Regions from separate parts of the Homo sapiens genome. Here region 2 is linked to region 1. Evidence: promoter capture Hi-C in 16 types of primary human blood cells and fetal thymus (Javierre and others, 2016). All regions are on one chromosome and are shown on one strand. The core of a region is centred on a gene start or on the middle of the fragment in contact, and the rest is flanking DNA. Distances in the headings are between cores, read along the strand shown. Region 1 holds the start of DEFB1 (defensin beta 1). Region 2 overlaps MCPH1 (microcephalin 1).

Region 1 (6,170 bases), core at 478-2,977:
CTGGAAGCCTCCCCAGGAGGCGGTCAGCACAGAGGCTAGGGAATGAGGCTTTCCAGGCCATTACACCAGTTTTCCATTTACCAGCAGGGTGACCTTGGGCAATTTGTTTCAATTCTCTGAACCCCAGTGTTTTTCTTCTCTAACATGAGGATTATATTGCCTGGTCAAAGAATCATAGTGTGGCTTCAATAAGACAGAAGGAAAGGGACAGAAACAGATCCGATAGAATACTGTAGCTAGCTCATTGAGGCAGTTCACAGACGGTGTTTGGGAGGAACTTGGAAGAGGCTGAGCCATGTCTTACCCAGCACCAGCAAGGAAAGCTGTGTTTCGGTTCTTTCTTTTCTCTTTCCACAATCTCACTGCTCCTAGGTCAGGCATGGCTCAGCCTCTTCCAAGTTTTCTCCCAAACACCCTTTGTGAACTGCCTCAATGAGCTAGCTACAGGATCCCACTGCATCTTTCTGTCTCCTTCTTTCTGTCTCTCTGAATCTATTTCTCTCTATCTCTCTCTCTCTCTCTATTTCCATCTCTCTCTGTCTGTTTCTATCTCTCTGTTTCTCTGTGTCTCTCTACTGTCTCTCTGCATGTCTCTGTCTCTTCCTCTGTCTCTGTTTTTGTTTGTCCATCTTTCTGGATCTCTCTCTGTCTTTCTCTGGCAGGGTTGAAGTGGGAGTATACGGCAGGTTCATGTTTGGGTGCAGAATGGCATTCTGCCAGCGGTAGAGTGGCTGAGGGTCACTCCACTCTGGGTGTCTCATGCCATGTGGCTGCAGTATGGGGTTCTCATTGGACCACCGTGACAGTGTAGGGTGGATGTCATTCCTGGAAACTGAGCCTCAAGCTGGGTTCTCCAGCAATGCCACCACCCCCCACCAACCCTGATATCCTCCGAATAAACTCTTCCCTTCCTTGGTCAGCGAGAGCCAGCGTCTGCTGCTTGCAAATAAGCCACTGAGACATCAGGAAAGCTGCTCACAGAATTACAATGAAAATCAGTAATAAATAAAATGTTTCTTAAATCTTTAGAATCAAGGAAAACCTGAGGGATACTTGGAGAGTCGCTAACAGCACCCCAATCTGGCAGTTGTAGCTCTGCAGGGTGGGCCCAGGCTGGCCCAGACCCTCACCCTCCAAGGGCCACACTGGGGGCTCACTTTCTGAGGAGTGCCCTTTGGAAACGTCCCAGGAACACGTCTAGTGGGAAAAGAGAAAAGTTGGTCCATCGAGGAGAGTGTTCTGCATAAGGGGAGAGATGAGAAGGTAGCCTTGGCCAGAGGAAGAAACTTCATTACAACCAGCTCTCCTTCTGCAAGGGAAGAGGGTGAAGTTTGAGTTTGTCTTGCAGGAAGACAATCAAACTAAAGAGGCCAACACCAGCTTAGAGCCGAGCGGCCCCCTGCTCAGAGCTTCCCTGTGGCTCTCCTCCATGTGATCCAGAAGGAGGGACTCCAGTGTGAACTGCCTGTTCCAGAAACCCCATCAGAACTGCCTAACCTAGAAAACCAAACAGGAGGAGCTGGCACCAGGGCTCCAGGCTGAAAGCTAAATCCAGCGGCAGCCAGATGGAGACAATGTGCCATGTGACTGCTGACTGCTCAGGGCAAATGACACCAGGGGTTAGCGATTAGAAGTTCACCCTTGACTGTGGCACCTCCCTTCAGTTCCGTCGACGAGGTTGTGCAATCCACCAGTCTTATAAATACAGTGACGCTCCAGCCTCTGGAAGCCTCTGTCAGCTCAGCCTCCAAAGGAGCCAGCGTCTCCCCAGTTCCTGAAATCCTGGGTGTTGCCTGCCAGTCGCCATGAGAACTTCCTACCTTCTGCTGTTTACTCTCTGCTTACTTTTGTCTGAGATGGCCTCAGGTAAGCTCTGGTACCTGCAAGAGTTTCCCATCCCCAGGGCTGGGGACAATGGGGCTGATGTGAGTCTCGGATGGCTGCCTCCGTGTCCCAAGGGACGAGGAACAAGCAGCAGGAAAGCATCCCGTGGTTGAGTGGCCTGCAGTTGGCAGAAGGCAGCAGGCAAGCCCTGCCAAGCCTTCAGGGTCTGTGAGCCGCCAAGGAGTGAGCCTGGCAGGGTCATGGCGCTTGTCACAGGCAGCTGCCTGCATCCTTGTCCTGGACATGTAGACAGTATCCTATGTGGATGAGATTGCTGCTTCCCCTGCAAGACGACTCCTCACACTGAGAGGCCAGCTTCCTATGCAGAGAGAGGGGCCGGCCCCATCCTCAGCCCACGTCACTGGGTGCAGCCTCCTGGGGTGCCCTGGTACAGGTGAGGTGCTGCCGCCCCACCCATCAGGCCAGCTCAGCCGGTGCCTTGGACTCACCTCCTGTGCAGGCAGGCGGTCCTCTCCCTCTCCTGAGAAATGCATCCACATTCTCCAGGTTAGCAGTCTCCCCAGTCAATAGGAGGGGGCTTCCTGTGAGCCAGGTGTATGTCAGCTTCTCTGGGCCAAAGCAGCCATGACCCTGACATGATGGTGGGACGTGCAGGAGGAATCGGGAACATGTTTTATCCCAGCCCTATCCTTGTTCACACGAGTCACATGGTGCTAAGCCTTGGTTTATTCATCTGCAGAATGAGGGGCTGGGAAGGATGATCCTGAAAGCAAGCACTCCAGTTCAGAAAGTCTCTGTAAGATCCTATTGTAAGTTTCTCTAGGCCATCACTGTATCCAGCAGATAGGCTTAATTTATTCCAATTATGCCTCAGTTTTTCCATCTGAAAGCTGAGTACAAAAGCATTCTAAATGCAGAACTTTTCATGCTGCCAGTTGCTACAATGGATTTTGTTTTTTTGTTTTTTTTTTTGGTTTTTGGTTTTTGGTTTTTGTTTTTGCTTTGCTTTTTTTTTGAGACAGGGTCTCACTCTGTCACCCAGGCTAAAGTGCAGTGGTGTGATCTCGCCTCACTGCAGCCTCTGCCTCCTGAGCTCAGGCCATCCTCCCACCTCAGCCTCCCAAGAAACTGTGACTACAGGCATGCACCACCACACCTGGCTAATTTTTTTATTTTTATTTTTTCGTAGAGATAAGGTCTTACTGTGTTGACCAGGCTGGTCTCAAACTCCTGGGCACAAGCAACCCTCCTAGTTCAGACTCCCAAAGTTCTGGGATTATAGGCATGAGCCACTCCACTCAGCCTACCGTGTTTTTTTGTTTTGTTTTGTTTTGTTTTTTTGAGATGGAGTCTTGCTCTGTCACCCAGGCTGGAGTGCAATGGCACAATCTCAGCTCACTGCAACCTCCACCTCCTGGGTTCAAGCAATTCTCCTGCCTCAGCCTCCTGAGTTAGCTGGGATTACAGGTGCATGCCACCAAGCCTGGCTAATTTTTGTATTTTTTAGTACAGACGGGGTTTCACCATGCTGGTCATGCTGGTCTTTAACTCCTGACCTCATGGTCCGCCTGCCTCCGCCTCCCAAAGTGCTGGGATTACAGCCATGAGCCACCACGCCCAGCCCATGTTTTTTTAAAGGAATAGAAAATATTACTTCATGCCATGTAGTAAAAGTAGATGCTATTTAATTACACCCATATTTCAGTTTGGGGTGTGTGCATATGTTTTTACTGAGTAGCAGTGAGAAATTTCTTTCTGATGGTGGTTCAGTCCAAACTCAAAAGGGTTTGAAAGGCACTTTGTTAACATAAAGAATTTTTGTTTTCAGTCTATTATATCTAAATTGAATTATGAGAAGCTATTCTCGAGCCTTCCCAGTCACAACTCCCTCCTACCCCCAAGAATAATCACTCACTTGACTTTTATGGTGGTAACTTTTCATATTCTTTACACTTTTGCCACACTAATTAATATTCAGGTTGAATAGTACAGCTTGGTTTGTGCACACATTTCTATTGGCCAGTAGGTGCCCTTATGCCTCTATTTCTACATGCTGAAAAGTTGCATCACCGGATCATAGGCTATGCATATATTCAATTGTATTGGACAATGCCAAACTGTTTTCCAAGATTATTTACACCAACTTGCACTCCCACAAGCAGTGAATAAGAGTTCCTCTTGCTCTGTATCCTTGCCAACATTTGATAACATCAATTATTTTTAAATTTTAACCACCTGGTGAGTGTAGCAATAGCTCACTGGAGTTTTAATCTGCATTTCCCTGATAAATAATAAGTTGGGCCCTTTTATACATAGTTACAGGCAACTGGGTTATTTTTTGTAAAATACCTGTTTGTCTTTTGTCCATGTTTTCTTTTGGATTATCTGTCTTTTCTTATTGGTTTGTAGTTCTTTATGTATTTTCTATGCAAGCCTTTTGTCAATTATATACATCACAAATATCTTCTCTTGCTTTGTGTTTTGATTTTTCACTCTCTTAATGGAAACTTTCCTAGAAAAGAGGCTTTTATCATGATTTCAATGTAGTCGAATGTGTCATGTCTTTTTCCGTAAGGTTACTGCACTTTCTATCTTGTTTAAGAAGACTTTCTTTACATCAAAGACATGAAGATAGTCCCCAATATTGTCTTCTAAAAGCTTATCCTTTTTCTTTTTACATTTAGACTTACAATCCATCTGGCAATGGGGTGTGTGTGTGTGTGTGTGTGTGTGTGTGTGTGTGTGTGTGTGTGGCTTCGGTATGAAGTAACGGTCAAGTTACTTTTTTTCCCCAATATGAATATCTGATTGTCCAGAACCAACTTTTTTTTTTTTTGAGACTGAGTCTCGCTCTGTCACCCAGGCTGTAGTGCAGTGGCACAATCTTGGCTAACCGCAACCCCTCCCTCCCAGGTTCAAGGGATTCTCCTGCCTCAGCCTCCCGAGTGGCTGGGATTACAGGCGCCTGTCACCACACCTGGCTAATTTTTGTATTTTTAGTAGAGAGCAGGTTTCACCATGTTGGCCAGGCTGGTCTCAAATACCTGACCTCAAGTTATCTGCCTGCCTCTGCCTCACAAAGTGCTGGGATTACAGCCATGAGCCACCATGCCCAGCCCAGAACCAACTGTTGATAAGACTATTTTTCCCCACTGTTCTGCTGAGCCACTACTATTCTACATCAATTCTCCATGTATGCATGAGCCTCTTTCTACACTCTATCTTATTCCATTTGGACATTTTTCTGTCCTTGTGCCATAAGCACATTGCCTTAATTACAGACGCTCTACACTTAGTCTTGAAATACAGTAAAGCAAGACCTCTCACCTTTTTTCCAAATGTGTCTTGGCTATTCTCGGCCCTTTGAATTTCCAAATAAAATTTAGAATCACTTTGTCAAATTAGAACCTCTGGGGATTCCCATGGTATTTGGTTGAACCAGAAGATTAATTTTTTTTAAAAAAGTAATCTTCAAATGCTTTAACAGAGCATTTCCACTCATTTAGGTCTTCTTCATTTCAAAATGTTTCAGGCCTTCATAATAACTTTTTTTATGTTAGTAGGATGTGATGTTCCTGCTTTTGTTTCGGTCTTTCTCTCAAATCTTGACCTAGTAATTCTTTACTGTTGGTTCTCTAATACCTACAAAGTGCACATGTGCGTGTGTGTGCGTGTGTGTGTGTGTGTGTGTGTGTGTGTATGTCAGATATTCTAGCTGTTCTTTTTGGGCTGCCTGGTCCACAATTATTGGAAAACAAAAACCTTCAGAAGCATTTAGATTACACTAACATCCTTAAGAAGCACGTAAGAGAAACAGACACAGGCACAGCAATATCTAACACAAGGTGAAGGCAAATGTCATGAAAATGTTAAAGGCAAGTGCTTTTAAAAGGCCCCTAGACTGAAAGCAGCATAGACTGCTCCAACAGGAAGGAACCTCAATATTCCAGACCAAAGGTTGTAAAAGTATGGCCTCTGGACCAGAAGCTTCAGTGTCACCTAGGAGCTTGTTTTAAAATGCAAATTATCAGCCCCAACCCAGACCCACTCAGATGCTGAGGAATGGAATGTGATCTTGTCACCCAGGTAATGAGCATAGTACCCCACAGTTAGTTTTCCACACTCCTCTGCCTCCTTTCCCCTCTAGTAGCCCCCAGTGTCTCAGTGTTTAGCCCCCACTTATAACTGAGAACATGTGGTACTTGGCTTTCTTTTCCTGTGTTAATTTGTTTAGGATATTGGCCTCCAGCTGCATCTGTGTTGCTGCAAAGGACACACCTTCATTCTTTTTTATGGCTGCGTAGTCTCCTCCGTTTTAAATTTGA
Region 2 (6,644 bases), core at 4,045-6,544, 450 kb after region 1:
CTTCTGTCACTCCCATGTTTAGAGCATATTCTCACTCATCTGCTGTTTAAGTGTTTTTATAAGGCCTCTACTCACCTCTCCAACTATCCCTCACAGGCCTATCACCGTTCAACATCTAACACACGAACAGTTATTTGAAAAAATAAAGTACACTGCAATAAAAAACACATATCCATATTGATATAGAAATTTCTACAAAATATATTAGGAATAAAGGAAGTTTCAGAAATATGTGCCTCTGTACGGCACAGTATGGTCTATGCAATGTGGTAAGTGACACTAGGGTAGTGAATGTCATCCTGGCATCCCTGACCCCCTTCTGAGGGTGTGTAAAGTCAATACTATCTTTATAACAACACTAACGTGTGATTTTCCTTTCTCATCTCGCATTATCCCCTCAGTATACAATGCAGTGGAATTTTCCGAAGCAAAACGACATGTGCCACCCCAATACACTGAATGCAGAGGCAGATATGAGAAGGCAACTGTCTTCTATTAAGCCAGGCATCAGAGAAATCTGCAAAAATGTACAAATTTAAAAAAGAACACAGTGCAGTAATTGTAACAAGAGAAGTACAACCAGGCAGAAAAGCAGCAACAGGTTGCATAACGAGTATGGTTCAGAGAAAGCTTCAGGTCAGAGATGATCACCAGACTCAACTCTGACAAGGAGGCAGATGTGGGAGGACACAGATCTTCCATCTGGAAGCAGAGCATAGACTCAAGCACAGTGCAGCAAACAGGGTGACATTGTGGGGAAAACATACACCATTTGTATGACTGAGTGAATGAATGCAACTTAGGAGACTAGCAACAAAAAAAGAATTCATGTGATTCCAAGGGTTGTACTTTCTAAGCTAATGAGCTTGGACCCTGTCCTGTGGGTCTGGGGCATGGGGACAGGTGTGAGGGAGGGGTCGTGGGCAGATCACTGGTCCAGGAGGAGGAGGCCAGTCAGGGAATACTGCAATAACTGTGGCAGGAGACGCTAAAGATTCAGCAAAGGCAGTTGGGGACTAAGATGGGGAGGGGGAATCCTTAACTGAATAATATTTAGACAATAAAAATGGAAGGTTTTTGACCTCTGGTTAAATCTGGTGGACTTAGCACATGCTTTTCTCTTGACCCCCAAAACCCCAATAAAATGATAGTAAAGGAAAACAAAAAGACATAAACCAACAAAAATAAAGAGTAGATAAGAGCTGTCTGGGGAAATGAAATCAAACAAATAAAAAAAAAAAGGGAAACCCAAGCCTGGCAGCTGGGGCGGGGGAGGAGTCCATCTGGAGCTCAGAACCTGGAGCTCAGAACCCCTCAAGGGCAGGAGGCGCAGGTGAAGCCACAGCAGTCTGGGGTGGGGCAGGGGGCAAAGTGCAGAGGGCAGAGGGTGGAAGGCTGAAAAGAGGGAGCGACTCTCCTTCTCTCCTTGCCTGTGCCCACTCACTGCCACCCTGTGTCCAATGGGGGCACTGGGTCCATGTTCACATAAGTGGAGCCTGAGAAGCTCTGGACTCAAAGGACACCAGGCCAAGCTCAGGGAAAACAAAAAGTTTTCCATGAAAGGAAATATATTCATGGTTCACTCTGAGATTCAGCCTAACACACAACTTCCACATTCATAATGATGTAAACATAAACTACCGATTTAACCAAAATGTATCATGTACACTGCAATCAAGAGTGGAAAGAGCCTGCACATGAATGTGTCCATGCAAACAGCAGATGAGTGTATGTGGGAGTGAGGTGCACTCAGAGGGGCGGATTAAAAACGAAATTCTCACTTCCCTATCAGAAAGTCACTAGATAATACCTGAAACTGAAAAACCGAAACAGCAATACGGCCACAGTATTTAGAAATATGGAGGTCACCGAACAGCTTATCTGCAGAAGCAGCCACAAGTGTGAAAGGAGCTGCCTCTGGGGAACAGGAATTGAGGGTGAAAAGGGTCAAGAAAGAGACCATTGTTTTTCATGATAAGCCTTGTAATATTTAGTTCTTCTGTGTGTGTGTGTGTGTGTGTGTGCGTGCGCACGTGTCCATACAATGGAACATGATTCCACCATAAAAAGAAATGAAATTCTAATACAGATGACAACATACTGAACCTTGAAAACATTATGCTAAGAGAAAGAAGCCAGACATGAAGGCCGTATATCATATGATTCCGCTTATTGGAAATGTCCAGAAAAGGAAAATCCACAGAGAAAGAAAGTAGACTACTAGAGGCTGCCTTGGCTGGCGGGAGAATAGGGGATAGGGCTAAGGGGTGCAAGTTTCATTTTGAGGTGACGAAAATGTTTTTAAATTGTGGTGACGGTTGCACAACTCTGTGAATCCAGTTATATGCCGCATAACAACCTTTTGGTCAATGACAGACCACATACACAACAGTGATCACATAAGATTATAATGGAGCTGAAAAATTCCTATCGCCTAGCGACATACTGATGTTCCTAACCCTGTGTAGGCCCAGGCTAATGTGTGTCTTTGTGTCCTAGTTTTTTTTAAGTTTAAAAGTAAAAATTAAAATTAAAACATAGAAAAAGCTGATAAAGATATAAGGTATTTTTATACTGTTGTACAATGTATTTTAAGGCATTACAAAAGAGTAAAAAAATTTAAAAAATTACAAAGTTTATCATGTAAAAAAGCTATAGTAAGGCCAAATAAAAAAAAAATACAGTATAGGCGAGGCGTGGTGGCTCACACCTGTAATCTCAGCACTTTGGGAGGTTGAGGCGGGAGGTCAGTGGTTCAAGGCCATCCAGGCTAACATGGGGAAACCCCGTCTCTACTAAAAATGCAAAAATTAGCCGGGCGTGGTGGTGCGTGCCTGTAATTCCAGCTACTCAGGAGGCTGAGTCAGGAGAATCGCTTGAACCTGGGAGGCAGAGGTTGCAGTGAGCCGAGATCACGCCACTGCACTCCAGTCTGGGCGACAGAGCGACACTCCGTTTCAAAAAAAAAAAAAAACAGTATAATAACTACTTACGAAGTACTCGTATTAGGTATTATACATAACCTAGGTGTTTTTTTTCTTTTCCTCCCACCACAAGTAACAGAGAGATAGATTATTTACTTATGGGAGGAGCCGGGTGCAATAACTCCCATGTGTAATCCCAACATTTTGGGAGGCGGAGGTAGGAGGACTGTTTGAGGTCAGGAGTTGGAGACTAGTGGGGGCAACGTAGCAAGAATGCCGTCTCTACAAAAATAAAAATAAAAATAAATTACCCAGGCATAGTGGCACACGCCTGTAGTCCCAGCTCCTCAGGAAGCTGAGGCAGGAGGATTGCTTGAGCCTAGGAGGTTGAGGCTACAGTGAGCCATAAATGTGCCACTTCACTCCAGCCTGGGAGACAAAGCAAGACCTTGTCTTTAAAAAAACGTTATAGTATCAGTTAATACAGTTGCTCCAAAAAATATACATCCAGTGTAACCTAACTGTATGACGTGTATAAAGTCCATAGTACTGTATAGTAGTAATGTCCTAGGCCTTCACATTCGCTCACCACTCACTCAACGACTCAACCACAGCAACTTCCAGTCTAGCGAGCTCAATTCATAGTAAACGCCCTATGTAGGTGTACCATATTTTATCTTTTATACCATATTTTTACTCTACCTTTTCTATGTTTAAGTATTTCAGAGACACAAATACTTACCACTGTTTCACAACTGCACATGCTGTAGAGGTTTATGCCTAGGAGCAACAGGTTGTGCCACAGAGCCTAGGTGTGCAGTAGCTATGTCATGCAGGTGTGTGTTAATACACACTGTGATGTCTCCACAACAACAAAATCACCTATTCGTTTCTCAGAAGGCATCCCTGTCGTCAAGCAATACCTGACTGTATATTTAAAACCACTGAATTGTATACTTTAATTGGACAAATTGTGTAGCATATGAATTAGATCTTAAAACAATGTTGGGAAAAAAAAAACCATGAAATACCACTACACATCTGCTTGAATGGCTAAAATTCAAAAGATGGATAAATTTCAACTATTGGTGAAGACGTGGAGTGAAAGGAACACTGCTGGTGGGAATATACAGTGCCATAACCACCTTGGAAAAGTTTGGGTAATGACCCAAGAGAAATGAAAGCATACAAAGACACAAATGTAAATGTCCATTGTAACTTTATTCATAATAACCTAAAATGGCAAACTAGCCCAATCTCCATCAACTGGTGGCACCAAGCTACATGCCTACAATAGAATACTACTCAGCTATAAAAGGAAGTGAAACCACTGCTACAAACAACACGGACAGATCGCAAAAACATCACCTTCAGTGATGTCAGGCACAAAATAGTACACGCTGGATGATTCCACTGATCTGAAGCCCCAGAATTGGTGACACTAATCTTTAATGACAGAAACCAGATCTGTGGCTGCCCTGGGGTGGGAGGAGGGGGCAGGGAGGCCGACAGCAAATGGACACGAAGGAGATTTTGGGGTGATGAAAATGCTCTGTATTTTGGTTGTGGTGGTGACACAGGTATACACAAAAAACCCGTGAATGTACACTTAAAATGGGTCCATTTTATTTTATGTAAATGTTTTTATAAAGCTGATTTTAAAAAAACAAACCAACTATCTGAGCCTGCAATAATGGGGTGAGCAGAATGCTGTATCTAATAAAAGTGATGGGAAAGGGAGGCGGGTGGAAGAGAACGAGGAAGGAAATGTTTTTTAACTGTGCTTCTTTTTAAAAAGTCCCCTTAATTACCAATTTTAAGCATGAGAAGTTTTTAGCAGCTTCTTCTTACTCAAGCAAAATGTCACCGATTTACCACTATTATGCCTAAGGGAACAGCAAAAGGGGGGTGGCTGAGATGCATCTGGACGAAAGACGTAGAGGAGACCCTAGATAATCGTGTTATCAAATACACAGTATTAAAATCACCACCATCATCAGGACAAAGGTCACCCAGCTCATGAGAAGCCTCACACCAACCGTGCTGGAAAAGCCACTACCATTGCCTCCTATTGCACAACACAGAAAACCGAGGAGCAGAGAAGATCATTTGCCAAACTTTACAAAACCAGTAAGTATTCTTTAAGTTAGCAGTTTAAGGAAGGGCTTGATTCAACCCAGGAAAACGTGTGCCTGACATAGGTTATACAGTTGTGGAAGATGTGTTCTGTTCCTTTGGGAGAAGCTTCCCAACCACATATCCTTCAGAGTGATAAGATGTAAGGTGCACAGAGATGCTCTCCCTGAATTTCATCTACCTGGGTGTAACTATCATCACTCACTATGAAGAAGTAAGTGGCACTTACTGCTGGTAATGCCGTTCTGCATGCCAACAGCTATGCTTTAGCACACGTGGTAACACATTAAAGCTGCTACACTGAAACCCATGTTTACCAGGGGTCCAACCAAAATCTACTGAACAGACAAAAAAGCTTCCAGTTAGATTTCTATTTTTCTTCAGAAATGTAAAATGATAACATTATCCCACCATCTAGTGGTCAAAACGAAAAGTGTTTCAAGAGATGTCTCTAAACAGAGAACCAACTATTTGACCTGCTGCTGCCTCAGAGCCAACAGAAATCAAAGCAGCAACGTTCTCCTCGGGAAGCCGTGCTGTGATGAGCTTATTCTCCCCAGAGAGCCGATTCACTCCAGCACTTCCCACAGTACACCTGCTAGGTCGGCCAGGAACCACCGACTCTCATTCTACCCTTAGGACGATGCCTTCACCTGGGCCAATCCTGCATTCTTTATGCTACTCTTGTGCCAAACTGCCCAGCACCAGTATCTTATTCTCTAGGCCCAGTCAGTAAGTCAATTCAGGAAAAGTACATTAATCTTTTTTGTAAACGGCACTGTGTTAGTGAGGTAAAAAAGTGAATGGCATCTCCTTGAAGATTCCAGCCGCGAAGCACGCTATCCTTCACGTGTGTCCCTGACACACAAGGAAGAACACAGGAGACTCAGAGAAGTCTGCACAACAGTGCTCTGCCAGCAGAGAGCGAACTTCTGTGGTCTAGCACTAAATAACCGTAGGAAGTTAACTCAGGAGCTACTGGAGGAACCTAGAGCCCAGCAGTTGAGTAATTTGCCCAGTCCTAAATGGCTACACATCCACTGTTACACATTGATGTGATATTAGGAGGACACATCAGACCGTTCCAAACTGAGGGACGTTCCTATCACTGGTCAGTGACCTTAAACAGTGTCAAAGTCACAAAAGCCAGTGAAAGACTAAGGAATGGCTGCAGGGTGAGAAGGCTGAGGAGGCGGGAAGTGGAGCTGGCTGCTGGTAGGATAGGAATGGAGTCTGAGGATTCCGGGAGGAAAGGAGCCGTGGTAAGCCCCTAATGTCGGCCTGTGTTGTGGTTATGCAGGAATATGTCCCTGTTTCCAGCAAACACTAAATGCAGGGGGTGATGGCCTTCGGTCAGCAACCAACTCTCAGCCTAGCAAGGACAAAGCCTGTGAACCGTATTCCCCACCTAGCTGTTAGTTTGCAGTTGTTTAAAAATGATAAATTGTCTTCAACAGAACTTAGAGTGGGGGCCAAGCTGACCTTTATTTCAACTTTATGTATTCTTTCTTCAAGGTAAAAATTTCTACATCCAAAGGAAATGTCAGAATTTTATCAATTGCCATCTGATCTTAAAATGAACAC

Evidence for each region. The method cuts DNA at HindIII sites, captures the fragments that hold promoters and counts their contacts. A CHiCAGO score of 5 or more calls a contact.
Region 2: a contact is called between a fragment that was not itself captured here and the fragment with the promoter of DEFB1 in region 1, in 1 of 17 cell types (monocytes). The highest score is 6.9, in monocytes.

What each region holds. Positions count from the first base shown.
Region 1 is chr8:6,873,493-6,879,662 of GRCh38, reverse strand. It overlaps DEFB1 (defensin beta 1), which reads left to right and starts at 1,727. Exons shown (of 2, transcript NM_005218.4): 1 at 1,727-1,866. The coding sequence starts at 1,806. The HindIII fragment of the contact is 13,732 bases long and covers 1-4,505 here.
Region 2 is chr8:6,424,126-6,430,769 of GRCh38, reverse strand. All of the region lies in intron 3 of MCPH1 (microcephalin 1), which reads right to left. Among named protein-coding and RNA genes, the nearest start is that of MCPH1, 21 kb to the right of the region's middle. RefSeq lists a silencer at 1,828-2,122 and an enhancer at 2,102-2,211. The HindIII fragment of the contact is 247 bases long and covers 5,171-5,417 here.